Regions from separate parts of the Homo sapiens genome. Here region 2 is linked to region 1. Evidence: promoter capture Hi-C in human tissues and cell types (Jung and others, 2019). All regions are on one chromosome and are shown on one strand. The core of a region is centred on a gene start or on the middle of the fragment in contact, and the rest is flanking DNA. Distances in the headings are between cores, read along the strand shown.

Evidence for each region. The method cuts DNA at HindIII sites, captures the fragments that hold promoters and counts their contacts. A contact is called where the count stands out against the background at its distance.
Region 2: a fragment that was not itself captured here is called in contact with the fragment with the promoter of RPRML in region 1 in 1 of the 25 tissues and cell types used here (adrenal gland).

The regions. Positions count from the first base shown.
Region 1 is chr17:46,976,680-46,980,704 of GRCh38, reverse strand. It overlaps RPRML (reprimo like), which reads left to right and starts at 1,452. Exons shown (of 1, transcript NM_203400.5): 1 at 1,452-2,549. The coding sequence starts at 1,698. The coding sequence ends at 2,060. It also overlaps a transcript of LRRC37A2 not described here. RefSeq lists a silencer at 1,330-1,509 and enhancers at 1,987-2,666, 2,667-3,347. The HindIII fragment of the contact is 12,504 bases long and covers 180-4,025 here.
Region 2 is chr17:47,328,142-47,332,026 of GRCh38, reverse strand. EFCAB13 (EF-hand calcium binding domain 13) reads right to left here. Exons shown (of 25, transcript NM_152347.5): 4 at 3,644-3,758. The coding sequence starts at 3,673. Among named protein-coding and RNA genes, the nearest start is that of EFCAB13, 6.1 kb to the right of the region's middle. The HindIII fragment of the contact is 3,771 bases long and covers 457-3,885 here.

The DNA.
Region 1 (4,025 bases), core at 203-2,702:
CCCGCCACCACGCCCGGCTAATTTTTTTTTTTTTTTTTGTATTTTTAGTAGAGACAGGGTTTCACGGTGTTAGCCAGGATGGTCTCGATCTCCTGACCTCGTGATCCACCCGCCTCGGCCTCTCAAAGTGCTGGGATTACAGGCGTGAGCCACCGCGCCCGGCCTACTTTTTGATTCTACAGGTCCATTTTTCAAAATACAATCTAAAGAAAAATCAGTTTTGGCACAAATACTTTGTTACAAGGCTCCTTATGGTAATATTGTTTCTGATGAAAGAAAAAAGAAGACAGAAAGAAAGAAAGAAGAAAGAAGAGAAAGAAAGAAGAGAAAGAAGAAGAGAAAGAAAGAAGAAGGAAGGAAGGAGAGAAGGAAAGGGAGAAGGAAGAAGAAGGAAAGAAAAACTCAGACATCCAGCAGGAAGCTTGGTTAAATAAACTGTAGTAGTCCATACCTTAAAATGCCATTCCTTCACTAAAAATGATGTTGTAGCTCAGTAGTTTGTGCATCACGTGGGAACTGTTAGAAATGCACATTCTGGGGCCCCATCCCACATCTGATTCAGAAACTCTTGGGGTTGGTTGGGGTGGGGAGGTTGGGGGCGGGAGGTGGAAGCAATCTGGGTTTTAATAAACCCTCCAAGGCAATTCAGAGCCATAGCTGTAGAGGACCATCGCTAGGGAAAGTTACGCTGTTAAGTGAGGAAAGGTTGGGAGGCAGTAAGCAGGAACGGTGCATCCCCATATCTGTTATCTAGAGAAAGGCACAAATAGAAAAAGTCTGGGAGGAGTTTATACCCAGGTGATAACATCGACACTCTCTAGGAGGCAGATTATAAAGTTTTAGAGTAATTTCGGTAATTCATGTTTTCTAAACTAGTCTACAATGACTATGTTTGTGTAAAAAAGAAAGAAAAAAACAGTAATTTATTTTTTAATTTAAAAAAAAAGTTAAATGGGACCAAGTTGAGAGGAGGGTGTAGGGAAGGAGGCAGAGAGCCCGCCTCGCCGCGACAGCTTTCACCCCGGGAAAGCTGTGAGGCAGGACCGCCCAGGAGACCCGGGGCCAGTGGAGTGGGCAGCGCCAGGGGTCCCGGCGACTCATCTGATGTCTAGCAAGGCTTACGAGGGCTTAAATAATAAGCGAAGAGAGTCAGGGCAGATTCCGGAATAACTTCACTGCTAAGGGTATCAAATCCTGGAATGGGCACCTTGGAGAGGTTTTCTAGCCAAGAACGGACAGCGGGTGCCAGGAGGGGGTGGAGTTTCGCCGGCCCGCGGACAGAGGCTGCCGGATCTCCCGACCCCCTCCAGCACCGGGACTCCGGGGAGGCTGCGCCCGCGGCGGGATTCCCGCCCCTCGGAGATGCCGCGGGGACCGGCGGGGCGGGGCCGGGCCGTTGCTAGGGGAGGGGCGGCCAGGCGCGCGAGGAACCCAGCGGGCGACCGCTAAGCACACTAGGTTCTCCGGCTCCAGCTCCTGCGCCGCCTGTTGCTCGCTCCTCCGGGCGGTCGCTTCCCGCCCGGTGCCCAGGGGTAGGCGGCCCGAGAGCGCGCAGGCAGCCAGCCTCCCGCCTTCGTCCCCTCCCCGTACCGCAGGAGCCGGTCCGAGGGGTCCGGAGCGTCCCTGAGAGCGCGGACCCCGGCGAGCAGCCCAGTGCACCCGGGACTGCGCGCCGAGACCCCCGGCGCCGCGCGGCGATGAACGCGACCTTCCTGAACCACAGCGGCTTGGAGGAGGTGGACGGCGTGGGCGGCGGCGCCGGGGCCGCCCTGGGAAACCGCACCCACGGGCTGGGCACGTGGCTGGGCTGCTGTCCAGGGGGCGCACCGCTGGCCGCCAGCGACGGGGTCCCCGCGGGGCTGGCGCCCGACGAGCGCAGCCTGTGGGTGTCGCGGGTGGCGCAGATCGCCGTGCTCTGCGTGCTGTCGCTTACCGTGGTCTTCGGCGTCTTCTTCCTGGGCTGCAACCTGCTCATCAAGTCCGAGAGCATGATCAACTTTCTGGTGCAGGAGCGCCGGCCCTCCAAGGACGTGGGCGCAGCCATCCTGGGGCTGTACTGAGCGCCATCTGGGTCCGCCCTCGCCAGCGCTGCTGCAAGAAGGACCCCGGAGACCCGGACCCTCGCCCCGCTCTCTGCGCTCTGCCGCCGCCTCCGGGCGGGCAGCTACGTGCCTGGGGCGCCCGGGCGGGGACGCGGCGAGACTGTCGGCGGGGGCGCGGGAAGGGACTTGGACGCCCGGCTCTGTCCTGTGTGCGCTGCAGCGTTGCGGGGTGGGAGAATGTGGGGTGAGGGTTCTTACCAGTTTTTTTTGTTTGTTTGTTTTTTAAGACGTTCGGGGCAGGGTGGGAGTGGGTATGGAGATGCAATTTGGGACTGCGGTCGCTCGCGTGGGAGTTTTGTGTGTACGTTGGTGCGGGTGGGTTCGGAACACGGTGCGAGTGGGTGAAGATGTGAAGCGTCAGAGTCGCTGAGCTTGTTGGCCTGATCTTGCGTTTGGAAAGAAATCTTGTAATAAAACTGCAGCCGTAGGGCTTCAGGCAGCTTCCCACCCGCGCCTGTGAGGTGTGTGTGTGTGTTGCGGGGCGGAGGGCATGTACCCTCCTGGCGGACACTTTGAGCCCCGTGGGAGACATCTAGCCCCTGCGTGGACGCCTGGCTGGGGAGCCCACAGGTCAGGTCAAGGATCCTGGGGCTCCACGCGGAGGCCAGAGCGAGGAAAGGCAAAGGGAATCGTTTTCTAACGCCAACAGCGGAGAAGGCAGGTCCTGTGGGACAGCCAGACAGCTGGTGAGATTAATTAAATCACTGGATATATGAGTCTAATATGAGATGAAACAAAATCAGTCAGCTGTGTCCAAAACGAAGAAAATGTGAACAAGGAAAATTCAATTTGGCAGAGGGGAAAACTAGATCTAGTTAAAAGTTTAATTATAAGGCCAAAGCCCCTTCTAAGGGCTTGCTTTGTCCCTACCCTTATAGCGGACAGATGAGTAGACGGAAGAAACCCCCTTGTTGCATCCCATAGGGGTGGGGGTTGGCGGCTTTGTGGTGAGGAAGTCCCAGGATGTTTATTATACAATGGAGAAAATGGCCTCCAAACGCAGTTGCCTGCAGGGGACTTGGAGCCTCCCATTACAGGATGCCCCAGCTGCCCAGAAACCCACGCCTCCTGCAGGTGCTAACTTCCCTTGCAGCAGTGTGGAGCAGCAAGAACTGGCTACTCCCTAGCGGACAGCGAGAGGACAGCTCTGCTTTCTGGAAGTTGGGGACAGGGGGACCTGGGGACACTGGAGGAGAGAAGGCTGGGCTTTCTGGCCTATGTATCCCCCACTACACTTAGTCCTAGTGCCAACCCCGCTCAAGCGGTTCTTGGAAGACTTGGTCGGGGAGAGACTGGATTTCTCCCTTTCTTCTCTCTTTTGCTGTGGGTGGGAGTGAAGAATAACGAGGAAGGTGACTGAAGTCTTAGCTGCTTTTAGCTAAGAGAAGCGAAGGGAATGCGATCCCGTGTATTTGGCACTAGTTTCATTAGGGAGAGGCTTGGCACAGGTGGGGTGGGGGAGTTTCTCGAAGGCACAGATGGTCCCTGGCTATGAAGGATCCAGAGTCGTCCTGGCTCCCAAGTGCTCCTGTGTGGTCAGAATTATCATGATCAGGATGTGCCCCATCCCCCAACCCTGGTCGTCCCAATCTCAGACCTGGGAGAATTCAGGCCAGGCCAGTGAGGGGAGGAACTGACACTCCTTGTAAAGTGTCTCTGGGGGAAAAACCCCGAATGTGGAGAATGTTCTGTTGATGGTTTGGTGTGACTTGCAGGAAGTCCAGCCTGATCTGGGGACAGCAGCCTTCAGTGACTCAGGCAACCTGGATAAGTGGCTTCGTCATGTAGGTGGTGCAGTTATCTGGAGTCTGGGCTGCCCTCAGTGGTTTGGGGAATGCAGCTCAGACAGCTACAGGCATTTGCGTAAAATCCCAAATGACCAGAAAATGGTTTCAGAAAGAACACAGGCTTACACGCTTTTCC
Region 2 (3,885 bases), core at 1,093-3,592, 350 kb before region 1:
GTTTATAGCAGCTGTACTCATAATTGCCAAAACTTGAAAGCAATCAAGATGTCCTTCAGTAATTAATAAATAAACTGTGCTAAATGTAGAGAATGGGATATTATTTAGTGCTAAAAAGAAGTGAGCTATCAAGCCTTGAAAATACATTTAAAAACTTTAAATGCACATTAAGTGAAAAAAGCCCGACCTGAATGGTTCCATATTGTATAATTCCAACTATATGACATTCTGGAAAAGGCAAAACTATGGAGACAGTAAAAAATCAGTGTTTGCCAGGGGATGGGGGAAGGAGAAGTAAATAGCTAGAGCACAGAAGATTTTAGGGCAATGTGATTATTCTGTATGATACTATAATGTTGACTATATGTCATAATACATTTGTTCAAACCCATAGAATGTACAACAAAAGTGAACTCTAATGTAAACTATGGACTTTGAGTGATAATGATGTGCCAATGTTGGTTCACCAATTACAACAAATGTACCACTCTGGTACAGGATGTTGATAGCAGGGTAAGCTGTGCATGTATAGGGGCAGTAGGTATATGGTAACTCTCTATTTTCTGCTCATTTTTTTTATGAACCTAAAACTGCTCTAAAAAAAAGTCTACATATTTAAGACCTGAAACCATAAAAATTCTAGAAGACTACCTAGGAAAAACTCTTCTGGACACTGGCTTAGGCAAAGAATTTATGACTATGACCCCAAGAGCAAATGTAACAAAAACAAAAATAAATAAATGAGACCTAATTAAATTCAGAAGCTCTTACACAGCAAAAATAATAATCAACACAGTAAACAGACAACCAACAGAATGAGAGAAAATATTTGCAAACTATACATCCAACAAAGGACTAATATCCAGAATTTACAAGGAATTCAAACAAATCAGCAGCAAAAAAACAAGTACTCCCATTAAAAAGTGGGAAAATAACATGAACAGATATTTCTCAAAAGAAGATATACAAATGGTCAACAAATACATGAAAAATGCTCAACATCACCAATCACCAGGGAAATACAAATTAAAACCACAATAAGATATCACCTTACCCCAGCCAGAATGGCCATTATTAAAAAGTCAAAAAACAATAAATGTTGGTGCAGATGGGATGATGTAAATTAGTATAATTTCCACAGAAAACAGTATGGAGATTTCTCAAAGAAATAAAGGTAGATCTATCGTTCAATCCAGCAAACCCACTACTGGGTATCTACCCAAAGGGAAAAAAAAGTTGTTGTATCAAAAAAAAAACCTACACATATATGTTTATCTCAGCACAATTCACAATACCAAAGGTATGGAACCAACCTAAGTACCCATCAACTGATGAGAGGTTAAAGAAAATGTGGTATATATACTACGGAATACTACTCACCCATAAAAAAGAACAAAATAATGTCTTTTGCAGCAACTTGGATGAAACTGGAGGCCATTATCCTAAGTGAAGTAACTCAGGAACAAAAAAACCAAATACCACATATTCTCATTTATAAATGGGAGCTAAGCTATGGATCCAAAAAGGCATATGGAGTGGTAGAGATTCAGAAGTGGAGAGGGGACAGGGAAGTGAAGGATGAAAAACTACCTGTTGGGTACAATGTATACTATTCAGGTAACAGGTACACTAAAAGCCCAGACTTCACCACTGTATAATTCAGCCATGTAACCAAAAACCACTTGTACCCCTGAAGCTACTGAAATAAAAAATATTAAATAAATAAATATCTTTCTCTACAAAAAATAAAATAACAAAAAACAAAGCCTATATTTAAAAAAAAAGAAGCTATATTGCTTCTAAATAGACACCACTCCCCACCCCCCCAAAAAGAAATAGAGTTTAGTGACAATAAACGTTTAGAAATAGAAGAATGCAGTTGGAAATATTCTCTCCTGAAATCTGGCTGTTTGCTTAAGACAACTGGCGGCATCCAGTCGATCAAAGGTGCATTAGTCCTGAGTCTTTGAACCCAAAGGTGACCATGAAGATTACACAGACAATTTATAAAGATTACCAAGGAAGTTTAGAGAGAATCTCTGTTTCCACAGGATGGAAATTAACAGAACTATTTCAGTGACTTTTAGAATCTGCATCATTTGTCTTATAACAAAGGCATACCTTTAAGTTGTTTCAAAAAGGCAATTTGATTTGCTGCCTTGATGAGATGTGTATTACAAATGATGAAAGGATTCCTAAAGAGATTGAAAAAAATGACCCAAAATAGAAAGCTGAGGGGGAAAAGGGGTAGGAAATCTAAAAAGACAGAAAAACCTGTTACCAAAGGCCAAGTGAATGAAAACAAAGAGTAGAAGCTTTTGACACAGAAGAAGAAAACAATCTCAGAAACATTGTAGTAAAAGGTGAGCCATCTGTGAAGTATAAATTATACAGTCTAAGGAAAACAAACCGGTATGATACTTTAATATTAATTTTTAAGAATTCATCTTCAAAATCAGTTTATAAGGGCAAAATCAACAAAGTAGTAGGTATAAAAAGGTAAATTTTAAATGTATATATGTGTATATATATGATATAAAGTACATATCTCAGCACTTTTCAAGAGTCTCTGAGATTATTTTTCAGACTATAGTATAGGTACATGTTTTACACAGTAGCGTCAGATCTTTAACAAGGATAAATTTAAAAGATTAGGACTCTCAATTGACAATGCTGAATTTCACTTGAGCCCTAAACTCCCAGAAAACAGTGAGGGTTAAAGGAATCCCCCCACCCTTTTGTGTTCTGGAAAATGGCTTACTGCAAACCACTCCTCCCCATATGACTTAGGTAAGACTCTGGAATGCCCCCCTTGTTTACTTATGACAATGCCAGACACACCCCCTCAAAATTCCCTTTCTTTGCGTCATAAATTATTAGCTGTTTTATCCCCACTGATAATCAGAATATAATAGACTGACTTCATGATAAAATACTCTCCAATCTACTTATCTAATCATTCTACTATTTCATCCAATTTCCCCATACCTGGTTCTTTCCAGCGTCTCTCTATAAAAGAAAACTTCTGCCCAACCCTTGAGACACCTACAGATCTTACGGTCACAGCATTCTTTCCATTGCAATAGTCCTCCTCCTCTTCCAATTTCAATAGTCCCTTTTTTCTCTTGCAATAATTATTTTGAATAAAGTCTCTGCTTACTAAGTCCAGATTTGTTTTTATTTGAAAAAACTTGTCTTATTTGACACAATACTAGCAAAAAAAGGTGGAGGCATCTAAAAAGACAGAAGGGCATAAAACTCTGAAGTACAGATAAGAGGGCTAAAGAAATTTGATGTCCTCTACATTATTTTTTGGTTATACTCTCACATCATTAATTACATTATCTACAACCTCTCATGTAAGTTTAACCCTTTTGATCTCCACAAAAATTATCCAGGTCCGTACCCCACCAAAATACTCTCATCATACACCACAGAAGATCTCTCAGTATTATATGGGTTGTAGGGATGGGAGTTCAATACATGTTCACTAAAATGACTCAAACATCATCTCAGTTACTTGGCCAGGTTCCTTATAACTATTACTCTATGAATTTGCTTACTGATTATGAATATGAGGTAATGTAAACTAATTTTAAAAAGAAGAAAGAAGAAATCTTTAGAAACTGTTTTAAATAAATACCTGGCAGAATAAATGTACTTTAGTTTCCATCTTTCTGTTTAGAGGTAAATTCTGTCCTTAAGGACTCCAGGCTTTGATGAACAAGTATGAATGAGCAATAGTACAAAAGGATTTCCTGCCAAAAAAAGAGAAAGAAGAAATCATACGCTTGTTTAGAACACTTAAGCAATTATATTTACCTACCTGAAGTTATCTCTTCAATGTAACACTGACTTGGGGTATGATACACAACATTTCACCAA